Linked DNA regions of Homo sapiens: all the other regions are linked to region 2. The links are contacts of gene promoters, found by promoter capture Hi-C in human tissues and cell types (Jung and others, 2019). All regions are on one chromosome and are shown on one strand. The core of a region is centred on a gene start or on the middle of the fragment in contact, and the rest is flanking DNA. Distances in the headings are between cores, read along the strand shown.

Region 1 (4,165 bases), core at 1,510-4,009, 63 kb before region 2:
ACATACACACATACACATGTATACATAACTATATACATACACATGCACATACATACACATGTAGATATATACATACACATATGCACATACATACACATATACATACACATGCACATGCATACACATATACACATACACATATGCACATGCATACACATACACATATGCACATGCATACACATATACACATGTATGTATAAGTATATACACACATGCACATACATACACATGTATATATAAGTATATACATACACATATGCACATACATACATACACATGTAGATATATATATACATACACATATGCACATACATACACATATACACATATACATACACATGTAATTGGCTTATGTTCATTTAAAGGCAAGATAAGGGGAAAACTAATCAAACTAATAAAAATACTGTTGCAAGGGAGGTTTGGTAGAGAGGACAAGGATGGAAGCTAGGTTTCTCCTAGTGTGATTTGTTTTGCAGTTTTGACTTTGGAACTATGTAAATATTTTATGTAATAATGGATAAGATTGATATTTATTTATTTGTTGAGACAAAGTCTGGCTGTATCACCCAGGCTGGAGTGCAGTGGTGCAATCTCAGCTCACTGCAACCTCCGCCTCCTGGGCTCAAGCCATCCTCCCACCTTGGCCTCCTAAGTAACTGGGACTACAGGCATGCACCACCATGCCCTGCTAATTTTTGTATTTTTTGTAAAGACAGGGCTTCACCATGTTACCCAGGCTGGTCTCGAACTCCTGAACTCAAGCAATCCTCCTGCCTCAGCCTCCCAAAGTGCTAGGATTACAGACGTGAGCCACCATGCCCAGCCTGGGAATTAATTTAAGATGACTTTAAAACATAGTAAATAATTTGACTGTGTCAAATTATGTCAAATCCCCTAGTGGGATAGTGCCTAAGGATTAAAAAATATTACAAAGAAATCTCACTGGGAGTAGCCATGGTGTTAATAACACTTTTGATTTGTTATTTTGGAAGGTAGATACTAATATTGTTAGAAACTAATATGTATAAAATCAAACAAGTTAAATGAAAACCCTTGATTTCTAAACTTGAATTAGATTAGAGGAACATGTTATGTGACACCATGCAAATGCAGTCAGCAAAGTCTGGAATGTGGGGAAATAAATGGCAAGAGAAAAAAAGGGTTGAGGAGCGAACCTATAAATAAACCTTTAGAGACATGTCAACCAAAAGCAAGAGTAGACCTTGTTTAGATCCTAGTTTGAACAAAACCCACTGCATTTTAAAAAATGAGACAGGGAAAATTAAAACACTACCTGGATATTTTATGATATTTAAAGAAATATTGATAACTATTTTTTTTTTTTTTGAGATGGAGTCTCGCTTTGATACCCAGGCTGGAGTGCAGTGGTGCAGTTTTGGCTCACTGCAAGCTCTGCCTCCCGGGTTCACACCATTCTCCTGCCTTAGCCTCCCAAGTAGCCGGGACTACAGGCACCCGCCACCATGCCTAATTTTTTTATATTTTTAGTAGAGACGGGGTTTCACCGTGTTAGCCAGGATGGTCTCGATCGCCTGACCTCGTGATCCGCTCGCCTCGGCCTCCCAAAGTGCCAGGATTACAGGCATGAGCCACTGCGCCTGGCCTGATAACTATTTTTTAAGTGTAACGATTAAGAAAAAGTTCTTGAACACAAAACAGGTGTTCAGGAATTTCTGGACTAGGCACATTGGCTCATGCCTGTAATCCATGCACTTTGGGAGGCTGAGACAGGAGGACCAGTTGAGCCCAGCAAGATCAAGCCCAGGAGTTTAAGACCAGCCTAGGTAACCAATGAGACCCCCATCTCTACAAAAAAACTTTTTTAAATTACCCAGGCATTGCTGGGCACAGTGGCTCACACCTGGAATCCCAGCACTTTGGGAGGCCAAGGCAGGAGGATTGCTTGCTTCCAGGAGTTCAAGACCAGCCTTGACCACATAGCAAGACCCTGTCTCTACAAAAAAATTAAGAATTACCTGAGTGTTGTAGTGTGTGACTACTCAAGAAGCTGGGGGAGGGGGGGGGATTGCTTGAGCCCAGGAGGCCAAGGCTGCAGTGAGTTGTGATCATGCCACTGCACTCCAGCCGGGGCAACAAAGCTAGACCCTGTCTAAAAAAAAAAAAGAATCATAATTTACTATATGTAATTTATACTTCCATTTTTTGAAAAGCAATACCTTCTCATTAGTTTGCCAAGAAAGATGAGAATTTATTCTTTTTTCTATTTGGGGGGTTTTCTTTTTTTTTTGTATTTATTTATTTATTTATTTATTTATTTATTTATTTATTTATTTACTGAGGCAGGGTCTCATTCTGTTGCCCAGGCTGGAGTGCAGTGGCATAATCTCGGCTCACTGCAACCTCTGCCTCCCAGGTTGATCACTTGAGCCCAGCAAGACCAAGTCCAGGAGTTTAAGATCAGCAATTCTCGTGCCTCAGCCTTCCAAGTAGCTGGGATTACAGGTGCGCACCACCGTGCCCAGCTAATTTTTATATTTTTAGTAGAGATGAGGTTTCGCCATGGTGGCCAGGCTGGTCTCAAACTCCTGGCCTCAAGTGAAAATAAACCAGTGCCACTTGCCAAGAGAATTAATTAAATAAATATCAAAGAAAAAACACTTTGAACAGCTAGGAGATGGGACTAAAAAATTAGTATTTGACTTAATAGGCACATCCAAAGAGGTAATTATTCTATTTATATTGTTCCTAATTAGTAATATTATAGCTGTTAGAACAAGTATAAACTTTGAACGTGCTTTTGAACTGTAATACCACAAAGTATTAAAGCAAGATGTTCAGAACTGATCAAGTATATTGCAGCATATAGCTCTTACTACATTACTGCTATGGTGCTAGCAAAATGGTTTGCTGGCACTTGAGTACATAAGACAATACGATGTTAGGCCAGGCGCGGTGGCTCACGCCTATAATCCCAGCACTTTGGAAGGCTGAGGCGGGCGGATCACAAGCTTGCAGTGAGCTGAGATTGTGCTCCTGCACTCCAGCCTGGCAACAAAGCGAGACTCTTGTCTCAAAAAAAAAAAAATTAAATATTTTTTATTTCCTGTTTATTGCATGTTTGAAACTTTTTTCTGTATTTTCTATTTCGGGATGTACGTAACATTGATGCAGGAGTACATTACCTGGGGGTGTAGGCACAAGGTTTTCTTACTAGTGGAATGTGAACCAAAAAGTGTAGAGGCCACAGGGCTAAAGGAGGCCGGCTGAATTAGTGAAAATATTCAAAGCCAGTTTTGTTGTTTTCAGCAGTCAGTAACTGTCAGTAGACGAACATTTACCAGGAAATGTCGGTCTTTTAAACTTCGGGCATGGTTCTTATTTAGTATGTTCATTCTATCATGACATTCAGTGAACATTTATTGAGTGCCCACTGTGTACCAGGGATTAGTATGCACGTTAAATTTATAAGCTTTGTTGATTTCCACCACAAACCCATGGGACCTCATGTTATTCTCACAATTGAGGAAACTGAGATTCCCAGTGTTGAATGAAAGCCACACAGTATCACATGGCCAGTATCATGTGATTGCAGAGTCAGGACTCAAACCCAGCTCTTCACCATCATGCTATACTGATGGCCCTTTCCCAGTTCACAGGGAGAAATGAGGAACAGGGAGAGAATTTTCAAAATATTAGGTTTTCCCATAGAATTTTCTGAAGAACTTTGGTGTATGTTGCCACTTGTTCACTAACAAGTTCTAACAGATGACAGAACAAATGAGGAAGTAGCTAATTAATATTAATGAACAACCCCAGAATTTTTCTGAGTGTTGAATAGACTTGAATATTCAACAGTCTCAAATATTTGACACCATTCAGTGGACACACACTTGACTCGATAAGCTTATTCTACCAAGTTGTTCCTGGTTTATGTGACACAGCTGAACAGATGCCAGTTTCATGGGGGACTGTCAGATATTCTGAAGGGACCTAATCAAGTCAGTACAGTGGGAAGGAGAGAGAAACAGAAGCCTCGTTTGTGAAATACTACTTGAGTTTGTGCATGAAGAATGGATAGGATTTAGACTGAGAAGCTTGGAAAGGGGACAACCACAAACAACTGTAGAGAGGCTGGAACCTGAGCTGTCCTGTAGGCAGCAGGGATGCCTGGAGGCACGTGGAA
Region 2 (4,434 bases), core at 1-2,500:
TGAAAAAAAGAGACTTAAATTGTAAGCATTGAAGGTTAGGATGGGAAGGCGATTCGCATTTAAATCTCAGGACCCCATTTAGGCTTCTACCTCCCTGACCGCTGGGAGGCTGGTTGCTTTTCACCCCTCTGGGTTCACTTCTATTTGTCTGTGAGCTGTCAGCATCCTTCCCCACTTGTCTTGCCCTGCCTCTGCCAGGGAGGCAGAGTTGGGAGTCGTGGCACAGGCATGCACGCTGTGCAGCCTCCCACACCTGCACCCTGAAAGACCAACAGACACCCTAAGAAACCTGATACACAAGCACAAACTGATAAGATACCCAAAAAGTCAAAGGCAGACAGCAAAACATGGCTAATATTACACAGTACTGCAAGAGAAAGTAACACCAAAACAAAACAAAACACAGACATCATCTCTCAGTTCCTTCTCAAATAAAAAAAAAAGGCCAGGTGCAGTGGCTCACACCTGTAATCCCAGCACTTTTGGAGGCCGAGGTGGGCGGATCACTTGAGGCCAGGAGTTTGAGACTAACCTGGCCAACCATGGCCAACATGGTGAAATCCCCCTATCTCTACTAAAAATATAAAAAATTAGCCGGGCGTGGTGGCTGGCACCTGTAATCCCAGCTACTGAGAGGCTGAGGCAGGAGAACTGCTTGAACCTGGGAGGTGGAGGTTGCAGTGAGCTAAGATTGTACCACTGCACTCCAGCCTGGGCAACAGAGTGTGACTCTGTCTCAAAAAAAAAAAAAAAAAAAGGGTGGGTGAGGTGGTGGCTCACACCTGTAGTCCTAGCACTTTGGGAGGCCAAGGTGGAAGGCTCTCTTGAGGCTAGGAATTCGAGACCTGCCTGGACAACAGACAGAAACACTGTCTCTACAAAAAATAAAAAAACTAGCTAGGTGTGGTGGTGTGTGCCTGTAGTCCCAGGTACTTGGGAACCTGAGCAGGAGGACTGCTTGAGACCAGGGAGCTGGGCCTGCAGTGAACCATGGTTATGCCCCTGCACTCCAGATAGGGTGAAATGGGTAGTTTTTCACTTGATCTCCTCCTCATTGTCTCTTACGTTTAAACAAGTCTCAAACCTGGTGCAGAGGTGCATGTACCTCCATTGCTGGACAAGGCCTGACTTTTGCCTGCTGGTAGGGCCTCCTCAGTTCTAACCAGCCTTCTGTGACCTCATTCTCTATCCTGGTTCCATTTTCCACTTTGTGACTTCATCAGTTAAAGATCCCATTTCAGCCACCAAGGTTGAGAGGCCCCAAGACCCAGTTCCTTTACAGAATCAACCCTGGGGTGGCTTTAGGACTGGGCTCTTTGGAGCTCATCCTTGGACCCACAGTGGAGTGCTGGTCCGTGCTGATGTCTTCAGATACCAATCAATGGGCATTTGGCTCCTTGCTTCCACTGACCTCTTGAGTACTTTCAACGATCGGTGTCAGGAGTGCCCCAGCTGCTGTTTCTAGAGCATCTCTGCAACCCACGGTGGCCTCTCCTCTCTCTGCGGGCCATGGACAGCACAGTCCCTTCAGCCCTGGAGCTGCCCCAGCGGCTGGCACTGAACCCAAGGGAGAGCCCGAGGAGTCCAGAAGAGGAGGAGCCCCACCTGCTGAGCAGCTTGGCTGCAGTCCAGACCCTGGCCAGTGTCATCCGGCCTTGCTATGGCCCCCACGGCCGGCAGAAGTTCCTGGTGACCATGAAAGGAGAAACAGTGTGCACGGGGTGTGCCACTGCCATCCTCAGGGCCCTGGAGCTGGAGCACCCAGCAGCATGGCTCCTCCGGGAAGCAGGACAAACCCAGGCAGAGAATAGTGGGGACGGCACAGCCTTCGTGGTTCTGCTGACGGAAGCCTTGCTGGAACAGGCAGAGCAGCTGCTGAAGGCTGGCCTGCCTCGCCCGCAGCTCCGGGAGGCCTACGCCACGGCCACTGCAGAGGTCCTGGCCACACTGCCCTCCCTGGCCATCCAATCTCTGGGGCCTTTGGAAGATCCATCCTGGGCCCTCCATTCTGTGATGAATACCCACACCCTGTCCCCCATGGACCACTTGACCAAGCTGGTGGCCCACGCCTGCTGGGCTATCAAGGAACTAGACGGCAGCTTCAAGCCTGAGCGTGTTGGGGTGTGCGCGCTGCCCGGGGGGACACTGGAGGATTCCTGCCTCCTCCCGGGGTTAGCAATATCTGGGAAGCTCTGTGGGCAAATGGCCACAGTGTTAAGTGGTGCCAGGGTGGCTCTCTTTGCTTGCCCCTTTGGTCCTGCCCATCCAAATGCACCAGCAACGGCCCGTCTTTCTAGTCCTGCTGATCTAGCTCAATTTAGTAAAGGAAGCGATCAATTACTAGAAAAGCAAGTAGGCCAGCTAGCAGCTGCAGGAATTAATGTGGCAGTGGTGTTGGGGGAGGTCGACGAGGAGACCCTCACACTGGCGGACAAGTATGGCATCGTGGTGATTCAAGCTAGGTCTTGGATGGAGATCATTTACCTGAGTGAGGTGTTGGACACACCTCTGCTGCCTCGTCTGCTCCCTCCCCAGAGGCCAGGCAAGTGCCAGAGGGTTTACAGGCAGGAGCTGGGAGATGGTTTGGCTGTGGTATTTGAATGGGAATGTACAGGCACACCTGCCCTCACTGTGGTTCTCAGGGGAGCCACCACCCAGGGGCTGCGGAGTGCAGAGCAGGCCGTCTACCACGGCATTGATGCCTATTTCCAGCTATGTCAAGATCCCAGACTGATTCCAGGAGCTGGGGCCACAGAAATGGCTTTGGCAAAAATGCTTTCTGATAAAGGAAGCAGATTGGAAGGGCCCAGTGGGCCTGCATTCCTAGCATTTGCCTGGGCCCTGAAGTATCTTCCTAAAACTTTGGCAGAGAATGCAGGCTTAGCTGTCTCAGACGTGATGGCAGAAATGAGTGGAGTGCACCAAGGTGGGAACCTCCTAATGGGTGTGGGAACTGAAGGGATAATAAATGTGGCCCAGGAAGGGGTGTGGGACACCCTAATAGTCAAAGCCCAAGGATTTCGAGCAGTGGCTGAGGTGGTGCTACAGCTCGTGACTGTAGATGAAATCGTAGTGGCCAAGAAAAGTCCCACACATCAGGAGATCTGGAATCCTGACTCTAAGAAGACAAAGAAACACCCACCTCCTGTGGAAACAAAAAAAATCCTTGGATTGAATAACTAGTGATACCCTCAATAAAACAGGGATTGCCAAGAAGGGAACAATCACCCCAAAAATGAATGTTTGCCTTTATTCCGTGTTTGGTACTTGATTCACTTTCTTTAAATAAAAACATGAAGGAACATAAAATTTCTTTTCATGCGCTTAGTTCCTTTCCAGTTCTCGACTTTTTTTGTTTTTTTTTTTTGAGAGACGGAGTCTTGCTCTGTTGCCCAGGCTGGTGTGCAGTGGCGTGATCTTGGCTCACTGCAACCTCCGCCTCCCAGGTTCAAGCGATTTTCCTGCCTCAGCCTCCTGAATAGCTGGGACTACAGGTGCGCGCCACCACGCCCAGCTATTTTTTGTATTTTTAGTAGAGACGGGGTTTCACCATATTGACCAGGCTGGTCTCGAACTCCTGACCTCATGATCCTCCCGCCTCAGCCTCCCAAAGTGCTGGGATTACAGGCGAGAGCCACTGTGCCCAGCCAGTTCTTGACCTTTTCATTTTGTGTTTCTATCAGATGCTCTTCCTTTCCTATGATAAGAGCAGGATTCAATTCTATTAAGATTTTTAAACTGAGTACCTATGTGGGCTTTGGGCGTGCAAAACACAGTGCAGCAATCTCTTCCCAACTATTTGAGCATTCCCTGCATGATATTCTGACATATATGGACTTATGTCTAGATGTCACTTTAGGAGTCTGAAAACATCAGTTGCAGCTTACAAGAGTGGTCAGTCCTTCCTGTTGTGGTTATTTGAAAAAAAAGAAGGGACTATCATCTTAAAGCACAGAGAGAGAGAGAGAGCAGGAGAAAGAGCTGCTGTGGTGGCAGGCAGAAATGTAACTTAAAAAGAAAAAAATCCTTGCCTGGCAAAGTGGCTCATGCCTATAATTCCTGCACTTTGGGAGGCTGAGACAGGAAGATCGCTTGAGTCCAGGAGTTCAAGACTAGCCTGGACAACATAGTGAGACCCTATCTCTACAAAAATAAAAATTAAAAAAAATTAGCCAGGCATGGGCCGGGCATGGTGGCTCAAGCCTTTAATCCCAGCACTTTGGGAGCCCAAGGTGGGTGGATCAGCTGAGGTCAGGAGTTCAAGACCAGCCTGGCCAACGTGGAGAAACCCCATCTCTACTAAAAATACAAAACAGTAGCCGGATGTGATGGCACATGCCTGTAATCCCAGCTATTTGAGAGGCTGAGGCAGGAGAATTGCTTGAACCTGGGAGGCAGAGGTTGTGGTGAGCTGAGATGACACTATTGTACCCC
Region 3 (4,083 bases), core at 1,114-3,613, 38 kb before region 2:
TTTAGTTCTTTACAATTGAATGAAGCACAAACTAAGCATTTGGTGGTTTACTTTATTTCAAATTCAGCTGCAGTTTCTATATACAAATCCCCTTGACCTCATCTCATTTCCTGACACTAAAATCCCTTCATGAGTGCCTTGTTTTTGCCATTATAGGTGTCTTCTCTGCTCTCACACAGGGTCAAGAAACTGCCCCATACAATGTGATGATGGGTGTGGGCTTGCAGTGTTAGCTTCACATGGTGGTAGAGCTCTGGGTGTGAGGAACCCTGCCAGGGCCATTAGCTCTGTTTTTTCCCCGAGGGCCCCACTGCTCCCTGTCCACTGCTACTCGCTTGTTGCTCTGCATAGGGTTTTCTTCCCTTGGTCCACTCTAGTATGTCTCATACACAGGAAATCTGACTTTCCTAAGTATGTGCCTGCTACTAAGGGTGACAAGACAATAACAAGAAGTTTCCTTTTGCCCTGTTCCTTTTTTATCCAATTTAATCAAAAAGTTGAATAAGGGGCCTGCAGGGCCTATAGTGAGGAGGTTTATAAACAGTGTAAAAGACATTCTGTATGGACATGGATGATCCTGAGAGTAAGCACATAATCTTCATCTTTCTCTCTGTTGTTTCTTTCTCTTTCTCTCCCTTTCTCTCTCTCCCTGTGTTTGTGTGTCTAGATAGACAGAAGTATGTATATCTGCATATATATTTCTTTAAATATTTGTGAATATATATTTTATAATTCACATTTCATTGGTGGTTCTATCATAGGTCATTGATGTCAATTCTGTATGCAGGCTAAAGGAATATAAAAGCAGATAGTTGGACACACATGTAATTCTAAACTTACTTTTTGGATCAAACAGCTACAGTTACTCTATAATGTACTATCTGGTTGATATTTAAATATTCATGTGTATATCACTAATTCGAACTAGGTGTATCCTTTTTTTTAGGCGGAGTCTCACTCTCACCAAGGCTGGAGTGCAGTGTTGCCATCTTGGCTCACTGCAACCTCCGCCTCCCAGGTTCAAGCAATTCTCCTTCCTCAGCCTCCTGAGTAGATGGGATTACAGGCATGCACCACCATACCTGGCTAATTTTTGTATTTTCAGTAGAGACAGGGTTTTGCCATGTTGGTCAGGCTGGTCTCAAATTCCTGGCCTCAAGTGATCTAGCCGTCTTGGCCTCCCAAAGTGCTGGGATTACAGATATGAGCCACCATGCCTGGCCAGTGGCATTTATTTCTAACGTAACTGCAGTCTGTAAGGAAACATGCCTCTTACCCCATCTAAATTCTTGATTCCTAAGTCCGTCACTTCTTTACTTTCACCCATCATGGCTGTCTTTCCTGCCCAGAAGATATGACCATGTAGCTGTAGGCCTGAGTCAGGAACTCCCTACAAAATGATTGTGGGTTTGGGTTTGGTTTGGGGCACCAGCCTCACATGGTGGTAGAACACTAGAGGGTGAGGAACCCATTACGGTTTCATGAACCCTGTTCTTTTTGCTGAGTGCTTCACTCCTCCCTGTCACCTGTTACCTCCCCATTGCTCCAAATAGGATTCTCTCTCCCTTTGGCCCACTCTAGTAGTAGGAGAGTCTCATAAATGGAAAACCTCAGAGGTTCCTAAGGGATTGCATACTACTAACTTAGAGTGACAAATATACTAAGAGGAAGAAACATCCCTTTCATGACTTCATCCTCTTTTATCCAATTTGGTCTGAAAAAAAAAAAAAAAAAAAAAAAAGAAGGTTATCTATAGATCCTACAGTAAGAAGATTTAGACATAGTGTCAAAGATACTCTGTATTTCCAAGGATATGCCTGACAGTGAATTTTACAAATATCAACTTCTCTTTCTCTTTGTTTTATGTTTCTGTGTATGTGTATGCATGCGTGTATGTTATGTGTATATATGTATATATATACCTACGTGTATATAAATCTTTGTTTTTAATTCACATTTCATGGGTGGCTCTATCATAGGTTACTACCATCAACTCAATTGGCTGTGGGCTGAGGAATTATAAAAGCATATTATTCAGATACAAACATAATTGGACTTACACTTTTGGTCAAATAGCTGCAGTTACTCTAGACATGAGTCTACCTGCCAAGGAATGCCAAAGATTGCCAGCAACCAGCAAAAGCTAGCAAAGAGGTATCAGATTCTTCCTTATAGCCTTCATAAAAAACCAACCCTACTGACAACCTCAATTTCAGATTTCTAGTCTCTAGGACTATGAGATCATTAATTTTTGTTTAAGCCACTTGGTTTGTGATACTTTGTTAAAGCAGCCCTAGAAACTAATATAGCCCAACCTGGTAGAATCTCATACACAGGCAATCTAACAGTTTTCTAAAAGTTTTGGCTACGAGTCAACTCAGCTAGGAAGAAGAAGTAGACTTCTTGTGATCTATTTATCTTGTATCCAAGTAGACACAAAAAGAAAAGGATGTTACATACAGAAGCTGAAACTACCAGTACTTTAGAAACAGTGTCCAAGAAACTCTATAGTTAACATTTGCGTGTATCTTTATGAACATACACACACACACAACACCTTTCACTGATGACTCCATTATAGGCTAGTGATATCATTTCACTTTCACTGAGGACTCCATCATGGGCTAGTGATATCAGTTCATTTGGGTCAGAGCTAAAGAATTAAACTAAATTGTACATAATCAAATACCATGTGAATTTGTAGGCTTAATTTTTATTCAAATTAGCTACAATAACCCTACAACTAATAAACTAGCTGTTCTAAAAAAACAAAACACAACACATGCAATTTAGCCATTTGGAAACAATAGTGACCATCCCTGCCTGTCTCCATAGACAACAACAGCAACTACCTAGAAGTAGTTACAGTAAAATTAGGAGAGCATTAGGCTGGCTGATGAAAACAGGGAAGGGCTGAAGAGCCATCCTTGGGCCTTCACTCCTCCACCTGCCTCCATCTCCAAAGCCCAGGTTACAAACCAGAGAGATTGTCTCCTCCAATGCTGCTTTGTTCAGGAGCTTCAAGGTGATATAGTTGTTTAATTAAACGAAATTTTCCCTGAGGTTGCCTCTGTACTTGAGTCCTTATGCAACAAACTGCAAGCTAACCTAGTGTGTAAACTAACAGCATAATTATGAATAGAATATACACTTGTAACAGACAGCTGTGTCTCAGTCAATTAGAGCGGCTGAGCTTCAGTCAATTGCGGGTGGCTGACTGATTCAAATAAGACAAAACATCCAGCTGTAATCAGTTGTAAACAACAAAGCTGTTTCTGGACCTCATTTCCATTTTCTGTCCATAATGCTGTCTGGCCACATTGCCAGCTTGCAGTTCTCAGAACTTGTTCTCGTTCTAAAAGCTTCCCAACTAACAAATCATTCTTGCACTATTAAACTCTTAAATTTACCTTGTCTAAAGTTTTTCCTTTTCACAACCCACAGGAGTTGCCTGGTCAGTGTTTCATGGTTCCTGAGACTCTCTACCCTGGGGCACATCACTTCTCTTCATTTTAAACTTACTGACAATGACACAGCTTACGTCCTAGATTTCAGTGCGACTGACTATATAATTCCTGCCCAAACCAGGACACTTTTGAAAGGAAAAAGTGGGTGCTATTAATAATTATGTTGTAAGAACAGCAGCAGACTGAGATTGTCCTTCAGTCCTTCCCCAATACAAATGACAAGACAGAGTAGCCAATAGCCACAAAAAATCTGAGTTCACAAACCAACATGATTAGATATCTGAGGAATACAACTACTGAAAAAGAAATACAACAAGCTGAACAACAGCATACCAACTGTAGCAAAACTACTGGAACACACTGACCAAGATTTTAAAGTAAGCATGACAAATATTCTTAAGGATAAGAGAACACAAAGGAAGATGTTGAAACATGAAATGAGAATGGGAGTCGTAAGAAAAAATAAAAGAGAAAGCCTTAACTGTAAAAGTATGACTGTCAAAAAATATAAATTGGTGAGGGATAAATAGTAGTTTGGATATATGTGAAAAGCTAATTAATTTAGAGTTAGAAGATTAGATTGAGAAACCTACCCAGAAAATAGTAGAAAAGAATA

Evidence for each region. Contacts are between HindIII fragments. The study calls those that stand out against the background at their distance.
Region 1: a contact is called between a fragment that was not itself captured here and the fragment with the promoter of CCT8L2 in region 2, in 9 of the 25 tissues and cell types used here (H1 embryonic stem cells, bladder, dorsolateral prefrontal cortex and 6 more).
Region 3: a fragment that was not itself captured here is called in contact with the fragment with the promoter of CCT8L2 in region 2 in 6 of the 25 tissues and cell types used here (dorsolateral prefrontal cortex, heart left ventricle, lymphoblastoid cells and 3 more).

The regions. Positions count from the first base shown.
Region 1 is chr22:16,654,300-16,658,464 of GRCh38, reverse strand. It overlaps the pseudogene PARP4P3 and the pseudogene ANKRD62P1-PARP4P3. Among named protein-coding and RNA genes, the nearest start is that of CCT8L2, 64 kb to the right of the region's middle. RefSeq lists a silencer at 1,140-1,340. The HindIII fragment of the contact is 4,221 bases long and covers 649-4,165 here.
Region 2 is chr22:16,589,626-16,594,059 of GRCh38, reverse strand. CCT8L2 (chaperonin containing TCP1 subunit 8 like 2) reads left to right here and starts at 1,250. Exons shown (of 1, transcript NM_014406.5): 1 at 1,250-3,309. The coding sequence starts at 1,510. The coding sequence ends at 3,183. The HindIII fragment of the contact is 16,456 bases long and covers 1-4,434 here.
Region 3 is chr22:16,628,612-16,632,694 of GRCh38, reverse strand. It overlaps the pseudogene TPTEP1. Among named protein-coding and RNA genes, the nearest start is that of CCT8L2, 38 kb to the right of the region's middle. The HindIII fragment of the contact is 8,238 bases long and covers 1-4,083 here.